2 separate regions of the Homo sapiens genome follow, and region 1 is linked to region 2. The links are contacts of gene promoters, found by promoter capture Hi-C in human tissues and cell types (Jung and others, 2019). All regions are on one chromosome and are shown on one strand. Each heading gives the region's core, a stretch centred on a gene start or on the middle of the fragment in contact. The rest is flanking DNA. Distances are from core to core; before and after follow the strand shown. Region 1 overlaps ERN1 (endoplasmic reticulum to nucleus signaling 1). Region 2 holds the start of SCN4A (sodium voltage-gated channel alpha subunit 4).

Evidence for each region. Contacts are between HindIII fragments. The study calls those that stand out against the background at their distance.
Region 1: a contact is called between a fragment that was not itself captured here and the fragment with the promoter of SCN4A in region 2, in 1 of the 25 tissues and cell types used here (mesenchymal stem cells).

The regions. Positions count from the first base shown.
Region 1 is chr17:64,113,967-64,121,386 of GRCh38, forward strand. All of the region lies in intron 1 of ERN1 (endoplasmic reticulum to nucleus signaling 1), which reads right to left. Among named protein-coding and RNA genes, the nearest start is that of ERN1, 12 kb to the right of the region's middle. RefSeq lists enhancers at 7,072-7,131, 7,362-7,420. The HindIII fragment of the contact is 3,950 bases long and covers 2,551-6,500 here.
Region 2 is chr17:63,971,594-63,978,998 of GRCh38, forward strand. SCN4A (sodium voltage-gated channel alpha subunit 4) reads right to left here and starts at 1,325. Exons shown (of 24, transcript NM_000334.4): 1 at 976-1,325; 2 at 759-877; 3 at 543-632; 4 at 129-257. The coding sequence starts at 1,248. The HindIII fragment of the contact is 21,993 bases long and covers 1-7,405 here.

The DNA.
Region 1 (7,420 bases), core at 3,276-5,775, 150 kb after region 2:
CCACCGTGCCCGGTGACCTTTACCTAAATCTATGCCACAAAGTCCTCTGTGTCCCTAGAATAATTCCATGGGCTTTCAAAGACTGTAATAAGAAGGTAAATGCTAAAAAAAAAAAAAAAAAAGCTTTTGCAAGGAGTGTTGAGTCAACATAAGTAAAGCTCTTGAACGGGCCTAATATACAGTAAGCATCATGTAAGTGTCAGTTACTATTATTCATTAAGAACTGTATGAGACACTAGGATCTAATCACAACAAATGAGATCTGGTTTCCTGCTTTCATGGAGCTTACAGTCCAATAGGAGACCCCAGTAATCAATAATGACACAAACATAAAATGACAAATTGTAGTAAGTGCCATGAAAGGGACATACTGGAAACTGCGACAGCATAACAGAAGAAGAGCATCTGGTCTTGTGATGGTGGGGGAAGCACAGTGTTAAAAATGATGTTTGAGTTAAGATCTATAGGAAAGGGAGAAGGAAAGAAGAATTTCCTGGGCAGAGGGAATAGCCTATGCAAAATTCTGAGACTGCAGAGAATTTGTTGTGTTTGAGGACCCGGTGGACCAGTGTAGCTGGACAGAGAAGGCAGAGGGGATATGGGACACGGTGAGGTTGGGGGAGAAGTCCCAGAATGGCGTGGGCCACAAGAGTCAGAATCTTTTTTTTACGTGTCTTATTTGTTATCTATGCAGCTGAAGGAAAGAACAGGAAGGTTGCTGTTCACATCGTTGTAAAGCCACCTGGAAGAAAAAAAAGCACTCTCCCTAAGGTGAGGCGTGTAATACACCAACCACAATCTGTTCACACTCTCGGTGAGTCTCCTCCAGTGTTTTAATTTATACTAACATTCGACTGATGTTGCCTAGCTGGTTTACAGCTGAATATTAGCAGAACACATCAGAACTTCGTAGGAGAGCGTAGTAAATATGGCTGTTTTTGTGATGAAATGTGGCCTTCAGAACAAACCCCAAGGCAGGTTTTCTTGCTTCCTAAGACTCCTCATTTGAGGGGGAGCCATTTCTCTGACTAGCCATCATGCATGGAATCAGAAAGCTCCCTCTGAAGGGTTGAGGAGTTAAACCTGCACCTTCCCGTCTTTTTAATCTTCCAGGCGCCCCATCTCCACAGTACCTGCAGTCAGTGCCAGGACTATTTTCATTACAAGAGGCAGAAATCTTGGGGATACTAAACTTACAGGACAAGGTAAGTCATTGGCTCATGGTCTCACATTACTCAAGTAGGCTGGCAAGGACTTCAGGATTTGCCAATCTCTTCCAGGCACTCCCTGCCTCATACTTCTTCCTGTTGGCTGACTCTTCTATTTCAACTCCTGTGTGCTAGTTCACTTACTCCAACCCTGCCCCTAAGCTGGACTCTTATCCTACATATATGCAGAAAGAAGGGTCCTGTTACACACAAGGCAATGCCGCCCCAAGGCCTGTAAAACTCCTGGCTTCAAGGGGTTTGCCGTCTAGCAGGAGAGTCGTGTAATGCAGAAAAAAAGACGGCAAGTTCCATGGCCGAACTTCCCGAAAGCTGACTTGGCAGCATATCCAGGTCCTGCCCAGAGCAGTTCCAAGAGTCTGGTCCCACCCTACCCTGCTCAGCTGTCTTCTCACTCCTTGCCCTAGCCTGTGTCCATATAGCTTCAAAACCTGTTATTTTATCCTCTCAAAACTCTTTGGTTTAAAAACAAAACCAAAGTTCCTCAGGTATCCTCATGAGTCTGGAACATATAGATGCTTTTGGGGTGAATGAAGCTGACAGAAGATGAGGTGGGCACACAGATGCATGGTCTGGTTTGAGCTCTGGGCAAGTCATTAGATTTTTCCAGGCATGGGTTTCCAAGAAAGTAAGAAGCCTGAGGTGGATGGTGGCTGCAGCTCTGAAGCATGATGATCCATGACTTACCAGACCCTCATCTCTCCTCAGGCTTTGCTGCAGCTTCTTCTAGCCCCAACCAATCAAAACATGCCCAAAATCCGCATAACAATTTGACAGAGTTTAGAAGTCCTAATGCCTTTGAACATAGTCATTTCCAATCCTGGTCTTGCAACATCTAAGTGTCTCCGCTTATCTCAAAATATTGCAACATTAGAAATTAGTAATAATCTGACTCACTTTAAGGTTCAGGATGGGGAAAAGAAATACCATGAAAATCAACTAATGTTACATGGGACCAGGTGGCTGATTCCCAGGCACACCTACCTACTATAGACTCTAAAAGCAACCATCTCCTAAACTGAAAGGGTGATACCTTTTCTTCTGCCAACCACAAATCAGATAAGTGATTGAACTTTTACCAGGCACCGAAAGCCCCAGAGATTTCCAAGCACTGAACCATCAAGATCAAGATAACTTAGGGTCCGTTTTACAAGCAACTGTGGCTTGGTTCCCAGTTAGTCGAGCACCAAAACTACAGATAAACTTGTTCTTAATCTCCACATATAAAGGAAACCGTTTTCTTCTTTGCAAAACCAGCTCATGGCAAGTGGAAAACGAACCCTAACAGAATTCTAGAATAAGGTCACTGGATTGCTCATAATGAGGTAGTACCTTTAAAGGTCAGAGATTCCCCAAATTTGTTCTTAGAACTTTCTTACCGCATTTCAATTTATCGGGAGATGTTACAAATACTCCTACAATGGAAAAAAAATGTAATCTTATTTAATGTAAAAAAAAAATAACACACACACACACACACACAAACACACCCATTTGTGTATTTGGGTGCACAGCCATCACAAAAATCAAAGAATGGCTGGTTCTGACCCCTCTGAGTTGTGGGGGTTTTCTGAGGTTTCCCTGACAGGATTTAATGTCTTATCATGTTATCCTTAAAAATCAACAACGTGGCCGGGAGCGGTGGCTCATGCCTGTAATCCCAGCACTTTGGGAGGCCGAGGTGGGCGGATCACAAGGTCCGGAGATTGAGACCATCCTGGCTAACACGGTGAAACCCTGTCTTTACTAAAAATACAAAAAAAAAAAAAAAAAGCCAGGTGTTGTGGCGTGTGCCTGTATTCCCAGCTACTTGGGAGGCTGAGGCAGGAGAATGGTGTGAACCCGGGAGGCGGAGCTTGCAGTGAGCAGAGATCATGCCACTGCCCTCACTCCAGCCTCAACGACAGAGTGAGATTCCATCTCAAAAAATAAATAAATAATAAAAATTTTTAAAAAAATCAACAATGTGGCCAGGCGCAGTGGCTCATGCCTGTAACCCCAGCACTTTGGGAGGCCAAAGCAGGTGGATCACTTGAGGCCAGGAGTTTGAGACTCACCTGGGCAACATGGCGAAACCCCGTCTCTACTAAAAATACAAAAATTAGCTGGGCGTATTGGCACATGGCTGTAATCCCAGCTACTCGGGAGGCTGAAGCACGAAAATCACTTGAACCCGGGAGGCGGAGGTTGCAGTAAGCCAAAATCACGCCACTGCACTCCAGTGTGGGCGACACAGTGAGACTCTATCTCAAAAAAAAAGAAAGAAAAAGAAAAAGAAAAGAAAAAAGAAATAGAAAGTAAAGAAAAATCAACAATGTTCACGCTCAGTCCCTCATATTTGCTCAGGATTTTCAGACATACCTGAGGACTATCAACACCAGTCCTCCAGAAGATTAGACAAGAAACAAACAGGAGCACCAACCTGTACATTACCCCAACACTAAGTGACGTGGTGCTATTTGGAGTGCAGGAAGGGATCTAGTCTACGAGAGTACAGTGGTCAGGGAAGGCCCTAGGCCCTATACAAGACAGGTGAGCGAGAGCCGATGAAACCACACCACGGTGTGTGGCAACTTACGAGGCCTCCATCTCCCTTGCTCTGCTCTATGTTTCTCCCCTGCAACCCCTGCAGAATTTTATCACCTTATCACATTCTATATAATGTATTTACCATGCTGTTGTCTATCCCAACCAACTAGGTAGAAGTTCCATGAGGGCGGGGGTCTTTGTTTTGTTCATGTTTCCCAAGCATCTCAAACAGTGCTTGGCATAAAATATGTACTCAAAAAGTTGATAAATAAATGGATGAACAGATGAAATTCACTACATTCAAGAGCTAGGAAGCTGGGAGGCTCAAAGCAAAGCAGCCCTCCCATCTTCTACCTCCCCGTATGAGGCTGCACCAGAAAAAGAGGCGGCTGGGGGACTAGTCGCTTTCACCTAAATGGTGATCCTAATTTGGGAAGACATTTGGAAACAGGCCCACCAAAGAGATTTTCTGGTTCCGTTGCTTTGTTTTACAGATGAGGAAGCAGAGGGGGAAATAACTCATTTGCCCAAAGTTGCACAGCTAGCTAGTACAGAACCTCCGGACTCTCACTTGCTGAAAGAATGCATACAATTTCATCATATGGGGCAAACACACATATAGAAACAAGATACTGGCCCTATGATTACATTTAAAAACAGCTAAAATGATTTTACATTTAAAAACAGCTAAATGCCTATCTGCTCAAGGAGTGCAGAACTGGTCTGCCACTTGGGATTTCCTTTAAGCATTAAGTTAAATTAGGAAACAGCCCTGGTGCTGGAGTCCACACAGCGCTTTCAGGCCAGGTGCCAAGCCCCATTCCAAGGTTGTATTCAAAGAGCGGGCTCCCAATTCTACTGACATTTGTCAACTTGGTTCCAGCAGAGTTTTGGATTTGGTCCAGCCCACTCAATGTGATGCTTGAAAGCAAGTGTCCTCCTGTTTCTAAACCAGCTAATAAAGATCCTCTGAGAAACAACTGAGATGGGTCCGGGAGCTGAGACAACTGACTGGTCCTCTCCTGTGTTCTACAGTTGGGCTTGTCAGCTCGGCACCTGCTATAAAAACCCTTCGAGGGAACTCTGCCTGACTCAGGCAATGAGGCTAATAGCCAGCTCTCACATGAAAAGGGGAAGGGAGTGTCACAGCCTGCACCCTCCCACCATTTGCTTCCAAAACATATGTTCCCACCCTGATAGGAAAGTTCCTGTTGGTTCACAAGCTTCTTCTTGTGCTTTAACTAACTCACTCCTTCTACAAATCCCTTCTCCTCACTCGCAATGGCTATTTCATTTTTGTTATGGAAGGTTCTTTTAAAACCATGAAGATGATTTTACCCATCAGGATACTGTGAAGGAGCCTGGAAAACAACATTGTTTTGATTTCTTAAGCCTCTTAATATATGGAAAAGGCAATAAACAAATATATAAATAAATAAACAAGCATAAGTCGGGTAACTTTAAATAAACATTTAAACATCTTACAATTCAGTAACTAAATATGTTTTAATATAAGGCCTATTAGTTAAAGCTGATAAAAGCAATTTCAACAGTTTGTATTCAAAGGAAAAAATCCATTAAATTACCTGCTCTTTAAAAGTTGAATGATATAGTACAGTAGAGAAAATGTAATATTAGGTTCCTTTTTTTCTAGGTTTTTTTTTTTTTTTTTTTTTTTTTTTTTGAGATTGAGTTTCACTCTTGTTCCCCAGGCTGGAGTGCAGTGGTGGGATCTTGGCTCACTGCAACCTCTGCCTCCTGGGTTCAAGCAATTCTCCTGCCTCAGCCTCCCAAGCAGCTGGGATTACAGGCACGCGCCACCACGCCTGGCTAATTTTTGTCATTTTTTTAGTAGAGACGGGGTTTCACCATGTTGGCCAGGCTGATCTCCAACTCCTGACCTCAGATGATCCGCCCGTCTCAGCCTCCCAAAGTGCTGGGATTACAGGCATGAGCCACCACGCCTAGAACTAGAAATAAAGTTAGAACTTTATTTCTAGTTCTAACACTAACTAGCGGACTCTATCAATCCTAACCTCTCTGTAAAATGAGCCAAATGCTGTGTCTAGTCTGGTCCCGTGCTCTGTGACGTGACTGGGAATTTGGAGATGCATTTGTTCTTTCCAGGATTAAGGTACAAAAATTACTTGAAGGCCTCATCCTGGCTGCACATCAGAGTCACTTGGGCCTTAAAACATTTTTTGCTGGTTTATTTGGTAGAGATGGGGTCTTTCATTGTTGCCCAGTCTGGTCTCAAACTCCTGACTTCAAGTGATCCTCTTGTCTTGGCCTCCCAAAGTGCTGGGATTACAGGTGTAAGCCACTGAGCCTGGCCTTAAACATTTTTTTTTTAAAAAAGAAAAGATGCCGGCCCCCACTCCCAGAGATTCCAATTTCATTCACATAGGATGGGGCCCCAGCACAGCGTTTTTAAAAAGCTCCCCAGGTGACTGAGTCATGGCTGGGAAGCACCGCCTCAAGTAACACATTCCTAGCCACAGTTGTGGCCCCCTGTACAGGTGATTCTCTCACTCCTAGTGGCCCCTCAGGAGTCATGGGCCATTTGCTTTAAGAGAAGAGAGATCTGATTTACCTTGGTCAACAAACTTCTCTGACTCAACTGGAGATCAATGACAATGTCAGGTTCTAGGGATGTGACAGCACTGTTTGTTCAGAGAATGTACAGAAAAATTCGGTTTCCATGACAGACACTCCTGCAGCCCAGACAAACAATTATTCCTTCATCTGACAGAGAGGGGGGAAATAATCCACTGGAGAATGGGATGGTTTTGAATTATAATTATAAATTAGTCTACTAACAAAGGAAGTCATGTTTAATACATGAGAGGACAACTCTGGGCCAAGGTTCATTTTTTTAACAGTGAAACATCATGCTGAGTGAAAAATGAAACTGACATGAAATAATCACAAACTGTTTACCTCATGGAGTTTGGCAATGGAAAAATTAATCTCATTACTGATAAGAAGAGCCCACCAAAAGAACACTACACACTATGGGTCACGTCCACCCAAGCAAATATCCTGAAAGCTCCTCTAGTTCTGTAGAAAGACACACAACTGGTGCAATCCCATTAAAGAATATAAAATATAGCTGAAGCAATACCTCCCACCCCCATCCACAACCCACTTGCTTGATGATATAATACAGCCCCTTTATTGGTCTTAATGAGTCTCAAAGAAGAATTCAATAAATATTTGCTGAGTGCCCCCTACAGTGGGTATAACCAGCATGCCACGTTAAATGCCACAGAGGATGCAACCATCAGCAAGCCAGGGTCCCTGCCTTCTCGGATGAACCAGCAAGGGAAGTGAGACACACTCCCAGGGGCACCTTCCTTCCCCCCTTGCTCCTTCCTTCCCTCATTAGTCTCCTCTGAGAGCTACCTAAGCTAACTTGAATCCCTCCATTGTGGTTTAAGAGCCAGAGTCACAGCCACTGTCTCTCTCCTGTCATCACAGACCTGCTCCCTGGTGCCAGAACTGCTTGGCAGGTGGCGCCTCTGCAAAGGCAAACACCCAGAACCAGCACGGTAATGCAAGAGTTCTATCTTTTCAGGACTTCTTGGTGAAGGCTGTGACTGAGCTAGAGAAGAGCGGCTTGGGTTAAAGGCCTCTAAGGAAAGAACTTTCAGTTTTGTTCTTTC
Region 2 (7,405 bases), core at 75-2,574:
GCAGCTCCCCATCTGCACAACTGACCGATGTCCCCTGCAGCCCTCAGCCCAGGCAGCTTCCCTCTTTAAGGCCTGGCCCCCTCCCCTCACCCACCCCAGCCTCAGGATGTCCTGGGGCCCCTGCTCACGCCATCATGATGACACTGAAGTCCAGCCAGTTCCAGGGGTCCCGGAGGAATGTGAAGTCGTCGACACAGAAGCCTCGGGCCAGTATCTTGATGAGGGACTCAAAGGTGTAGATCCCTGTGAAGGTGTACCTGGGGGGGAGAGGGCCGGCCGGGACAGGCATGTCACCTGGGTAGGGGTCAGTGTGGCAACGACAGACCCCCAGAAGGGAGGGACACAGAAATGAAATATGCCACTCAGGTGGCTAAGGACACTAGCGAGTGATAGCATGGCCACCCCAGGGACTCAAGGTGTGGATGAGGGTCACAATGACAGTGTGTCTCCCTGAAAGACAAGAGCAGCACCACACAGAGGTGCAAACACCTGAGATGGGCTGTGTCCCAGGGCTGGGGAGCTCAGGGAGCAGGGAGACTTACTCCACATTCTTGGACCAGGGAGGCGGGTCACTCATGGTCATGAATACGCAGTTGGTCAAGATGGTGATCATGATGAACATGCTGAACAGCGTGGGGCAGGGTCAAGGAAAGTGAGGAAGCAGCTAGGATGGGAGGTGATAGAGGGTCTCCTGGGCCACAGCACCCCATCTCGCCCATCCCTAACCCCTCCCGCCTCTCCCATCTTGGGCAGGATATGCATGGATGAGCACCTTGATGGCCCCGCGCCTGACTACGCTGAAGGGGCTCAGCAGGTAGAGAGCAGGTGTGGCGGAGAAGCGGAAGATGGCCTTGCCCTTGTTGAGTACGATGAAGGTCTAAGGTGGGAGAGAGGCTGTGAGACCCAGGGACAGACAGACAGGCAGACAGATGGATGGATGGCAGACAGACAGAGGAAGCCTTCCCAGGCCCAGACCTTCTTATTGCTGTAGTAGGGATCCAGGTCCTCCAGGGGGATGCCGATGACCTCCGGCGGGGGGTCTCCGTAGATCATGGGTAGGTTCTTGCCAGCCTCCAAGTCACTTCGTGGCTTCCGTTCGGGCTCCTCAATCTCCATCTGCTTATTCCGCTGCAGCCGGGCCTCCTCCTCCACCGCCCGCTGTTCTATGGCTGCCAGTGACTCCCGGGTGAAGGGGCGCAAGCACTCAGGGCCCAGAGGCACCAGGGTGCACAGAGATGGTCTGGCCATCCTCGCATCCTGGGCTCAGAGACCAGAAGGGTGGTGGGTGGCCTGGGGAGCTGCAGTGCGCAGCCCCGGGGTGCTGGGCGGCCGCCCCTCCCTGGGCGGGCCGTCCACTCCTCACCTCCTGCTTGCCCAGTGGCCGAGCCGGGGAGGTGGGCGTGCAGACTCTATCAGGACTGGGAGATGTGCCTGCAAGGTGCTGCTGCTGCACAGGTGCTGGGCACAGAGCATCACCCCTGGCCCCCCCACCACACTTTCCCCAGAAGTGGCAGCGGCTGCCCTCAGGACCGACGGCAAACCAACCAGATTCTTTGTGGCCTTGGGACTTGGGGTCAACACCCCAGTGCCTTCGACTGCCTCCTGGGCCCAAGCTCCGGGAACTGTGTGGCTTCAGCCTAATGGGACAGAGAGAGAACCACAGCTGGCTGTGCTCAGGCGACCTCTGGATAGGCCAGGATGAGGGGCCTGGTTGGGGGGTTAGATCAAAGTGGGACTGGCACAGGGACTTCACCCTGAGGGCCGACGTGGATCCTGATATTGGCCACCTGGAGATGTAGGTGGAGACCATGAAGGTGGCAGCCAGGCTCTGTGCAAAAAGGTTGCTGTGATTGATTAGTGATGTCTGCCAGGGGCGCAAGGAGGAAGACCGTGGTGCCTCTGCCTGTGTTTGCCATCCCTGGCCTGGAGGGAAGGGAAAAGAAAGATGGGGGTGGGTGTGGATTCCTCTTTCCTGATCTTTGGGGTACTTGGTGTTGGGCTGGGAGAGGGAAGAAGAAAGGGCCCTGGGCCCGGCAGGGGTCTCCTAGCAGTTCCCTCCCACAGCCCTGGGGGCTCTAGCCCACTGGGCAGGCAGGGTGAACTGGGAGAGGAACATTGCATCTGGAGAGCTGCAGGTGCTAACGTGGAAGAGAAGACGTACAGGGAAGGTCACAGGGACAAGGAGATGGACAACTCCAATGGTGGGGGCAGGGCTAGAGCTCCTGGGGACTGCTTTTGGCTGGTGGTCCCAGCACAAGCTGGATTGGGGGAAGGGGCATCCACAAGGAGCCTTTGATGCCTGTGAGCATTGTGTGGTCTGGGCCCCACCTGGCCCCTCTCCCCTTCTGCCCAGCCCTCCAGAGCCTATTCCTGTGGAAGGGAAGGGGGATCACTTATTGCAAATGGCCCTGGGGGAATGACCACATCAGCAGGCAGTTGCAGTGAGACCCCTGCAGACCAGCTGCAGGCAGCCACTGCCAGACCCACATGGACAGACCTGGAGCCACCCCTGCACCACAGGGACCTGGACAGACCCCTAGAGACCCCCAAAGCCACACCTGAGGGTGGACCTCTCCCAGTGGGCCTTGACCCTTGCAGCAGCGCCCCTGCCCTGGTCAGCACGGGCGCTTCTCAGGCTTGCTCAACAGGTGGGGAGGGTGGCCAGGGAGAGGCCAGAGCCACTGGGCAGAGCTGGCCACGCCCTTGTGCCTGGCTCCCAGCTGCTCCTTACAGCACCCAGGGAGTCGTGTTTCCACGGGGATGACTCTGCTTATTCCTGCCAACCCTGCCCTCAGCTGCTCACTGGCCCCTGTCGTGAGCGTGGGCGTGCATGTGCACACACTTGCACACACAGGCACATGCACGCACACCCGGCCTGGAGCCACCCCACATGCAGACCTTCCCAGTTGCATCTCACAGCTCTGTCATATACCTTGCCACCTTCCTCCCCATCACCCACTCCACGTACACCCCCACATGCTGCTTGTCACTACACAGAAGGCGCCAACCAGCCAGATGGCCTTGAAGAGACCCCAGGGCTGCTGTGCACCCACCCAGTCTGCAGTCCCTGCTGTGATGATCCTCCTGTCCTGATACTGCTCACTCTTTTCATTACACGAGCCCAAGTAGGGCCACAAAAGCCCACAGACACATAGTCTGGCTCCCAACCCCAGCACTCGAGGAAATGACTCTCACCTGAGTCACCAGAGCTCCCCAGGGGACAGATCCAGTGTTTTCTTCCCCGCTGGCCCTCCTGAGCTTCCCACACCGCACACCGCCTTTCTTCTTGGGAGCAGGACATCACCTGTGCGTCCGGCCACTCTCCCCAGCTCTGCTCTGGGACCTGCCCCTTCCCTGCCCCTGGAAGATGCTTCTTCTCTGGGGCCTGCTCTGCAGCCTGTTTTCTTTGCACAGCGTACACCTCTCCCTTCAAAATGTTCACTTCCTCCTAATTTCCTCTTCTCCTACTCCTCCATTACCCCTGAGGTCTGGCTGTTTTGTAATGTGAGGGGAGGAATGTCCTCACTGGTTCCACTTGCTGAAGCTGGCTTTGGTTGGTGGCTGCCCGAAGCATCATGGTGGTAGATCTGGCCAGTTCCACACCCTACTGATGCTCCCTCTCCAGTGTCACTGCCCTCTCCACCCTCCACCCCTCACCTGTTCTGTTCAAATAACCTCCCCGCGTGGTGACATGCTCCTGTAGTCCCAGCTACGAAGGCAGGAGGATCCCTTAAGCTCAGGAGTTCGAGGCTGCAGTGAGCCATGATGGTGCCACTGTCCTCCAGCCTGGGTGACAGAGTGAGACCCTGTCTCAAAAACCAACCAAAGAAACACCTCCCACCAGGCTCTCCCCTAGACTGCCATAAATATTTGTAAAGTCACAAATTTCACCCCCTGCTTAAATCTTCAATGGCTTTCCACTGCTTAGGAGTACGTCCTAAGCCCTACCCAGGGCTCCCAAGGCCCTCCATGATCAGATCCCTGCCTCATTGCCTACCCTTCCCGCATCCTCTGGCCATGCTACCTCCATTTTCACAAATGGGCCAAGCTGTTTTCCACCCCCCTGCCCTAACCCCCATGCCTTTGCTTGTGGTTTGCTCTCCTCCCAGAGCACCCATCTTCTTTGTCTCCCTGGAGAGCTTCCATTCATCTTTCTAGACTCAACCCACACAAGAACCACCTCCTCCAGGAAGCCCTCCCTGGGTACCCTGGCTGGGTGGAACTCTCCCCTTGTTTGTGTCACCAGCTCAATAAAAGTTTATCAAATGAATAAGTGAGTGAATCACAGGGACACTCTACCTTAGCTCTTTTCTCCTTTAAGCATACCCTGAACCTAAATCATAACCAGAAACCATATCTCCTCTGAAATCACCACTTCAAACTCTTCCTTTGCCCCTGCCACCTTCTCAGCTCCTGGCTCAGGGGCCCGGTTGCTATAATCTTTGGGCACTTTCAGTTCTTTGACCCTGCACTTTCTCCCTTTCCACCTGCTTCTGACTTCATGTCCCTCCTCATCTAGGCTTACTTAGAAGATCATCATTCTGGTCCCTCCTCCACAGCTCCCAGGGAGAGATCCCAGAAGGAGGGATCTCTCTCCTTCTATCACACAGTCCTGGGGAACCCCTAACTGCATGTCCCCAGCTCTGGTTTTCCAAAGTCAGCCCCGAGCTGGAGAAATGTGGCTGGGGAAATGGTATGACTAGGCTGAGCTCACCGTAAATTCATGGTCACATATTCTGGGTTTGTCCTCAATCCTGCCAGCCCTGTAGTGTGGATTTTTCTGGTAGGCTCACTTTTCCACTTTTTGAAAACAACTATTTCATGCCTTCTCCTCTTTCCTCAGACCTCCGCGCTCCTCCCCATGAGCCTCCCAGCTGATGGTCTTCCCTGAGGAAGGAAGAACCACTACACACACACTGTCAAATCCACAGAACCATCTCCCCATCCCACCCCGTCTTCCTCTATCCTGTTAGAATAATAATAAGAAGCAAGGGTCAGGCTTTCCTGGGGCTCAGGACCCCAGCCCCTCTTGCTTCTCAAAGACCTCTCCAGGTGCCCTCTCTCTACTGCCCATCCACCTCTCCCCATCTGTGAACAGACTCTAGTGTCCCCCACTTTAAAAACAATGGCAGTGGTGACAAAACTATTCTCCTGGCCCCACACCTCCCTGCATCTATTGCCCTATTTTTCTTTCCTCTTCACAGTAAAACTTCTTGGAAAGTGTCTACACCAGCTGTCTTGACTTCCTTACCTTTCATTCTCTCTCCAATCCATTCCAACCTGGCTTCCGTTTCCCCTTCAACTGAAACTACTTTTGTCAAGTCACTAACACCCTCCCTGCTGCCAAGTCCAGTGAACACGCTTCTGTCCTCAGCTCCCAGAGCCTCTCAGAAGCATGCAGCCCAGTTGGCCACAGCCCCTTTCTGGAAGCACCTGATTCTCACAGCCTCCATGGAAGCTGCTTGCTGTTTCCCTTCCACATCCCTGGCTGCTCCGTATCACTTTCCTCTGCTTGTCCTGATTTCTGTCCCCAATCTCTAATGTTTTTCAGGGTTCGAGCTGGTTCAGGGTGGCATCATTCCTATGACCATAAATAATGTCATGGGGCCAGGCACGGTGGCTCACGCCTGTAATCCCAGTGCTTTGGAAGGCCAAAGTGGGAGGATCGTTTGAGCCTAGGAATTGGAGACCAGTCTGGGCAACATAGTGAGACCCTGTCTCCACAAAAAACAAAATAATTAGCTGGGTGCGGTGGTGTGTGCCTATAGTCCCAGCTATTCGGGAGGCTGAGGCAGGAGGATCACTTGAACCCACGGAAGTGGAGTCTGCAGTGAGCTGTGATTGCACTACTGCACTACAGCCTCGGCGATAGAGCAAGACCGTGTCTCTAAAAATCAATAAATACAATAAAATAATAAATTAATTATAAAATAATAAGTTCATGAATAAAATAATAGTAATGTCATGGGAATGTGATAAACGTTTCCCTTGACGTCCAGGCTGGTATATTCAACTGCCCCCAGACGGCTCCACCGGGATGGCTCACACCCTCCCAACTGCAATCAGACGTTTGCATCTTCCACTGTTCCACCCTTCAACCCAGGAAACGGCATCACTGCTATTGGCTGCTCAAATAAAAAATTAAGGTATCTCCCTGAATTCTCCTTTTTCTTCACCTTCCACACCAAGCCTGTCCAAAGTTCTATTAATATCATCTCCCACATACTCCTATATTTGACATTTTTCCATCTCCCTGGGTCCATACCACAATAGTCTCTTACAATAGCCTGTTTCCTGCTATCTGCTTTTGCACACACACCCTCCGAATCAGTCCCCTAAAATAGCTATTGATCTTTTAAAAACAAAAACTAGTCATGCTGTTTCTCCTTTTAAAATTCTCCAGGCTGGGCGCGGTGGCTCATGCCTGTAATCCCAGCACTTTGGGAGGCTGAGGCAGGTGGATCACCTGAGGTCAGGAGTTCAAGACCTACCTGACCAACATAGTGAAACCCCGTGTCTACTAAAAATACAAAAATTAGCCGGGCGTGGTGGCGGCACCTGTAATCCCACCTACTCAGGAGGCTAAGGCAGGAGAATCACTTGAACCTGGGAGGTGGAGGTTGCAGTGAGCCAAGATCACACCACGGCATTCCAGCCTGGGTGACAGAGTGAGACTCTGTCTCAAAAAAAAAAAACAAAAACAAAATAAAATATAATAAAATAAAATTCTCCAGTAATTTCTTGTTGCATGTAGAGTAAACCTAACCTTACCATAGTGGCCTCTCTGGCCTGGTGATCGAACCTTTCACCTTTGTCTCCTGATCTGCTCCCTCGTCTCTCTACTCCAGTCCCACTGGCCTCCTTCCAGCTCCTTGACCACTGCGCTGGCTCCTGCTCTTGGCCTCCACCCAGCTCCCGTTCCCCCCAGGTCCCTCTTTCCTCTCCCCTTTCACGTGGTTTTTCCTTCTCATCCCTCTGTGCTAAGCTCAAACGACCCCTCTTCCAAGGGGCCTTCCTTCTCCTTTACTCCCCGTCACAGGCCCCTGTATTTTCCTTGACATCATATATCATAATTTGTAATCACTGGCTTATTTGCCTTGTGTATTTTTCTGTCACCCTCGCTAGGCTGAAATGCCAAGAGAGCAGCGACTGTATCTGTCTTGGTTGCCCTGGCCAGTCCCAACACTGTGCACACAGTAGGCACTTAATAAGTGTCTGTTGAATGAAGGAGCGAATGGGGCCTTGGATACAGACCTTTCCAGGGACACAATGGATTCTGATATGTTTTGTTGATTCATTCATTCATCCACCCATTTATTCATTCTGTTTGTGGGCTGGAAGCTGAGCTGGGCATGAGTAGGACAGAAAGCTGCCACAGCTGACAGTCCTGGGGGAGGTGGACGTG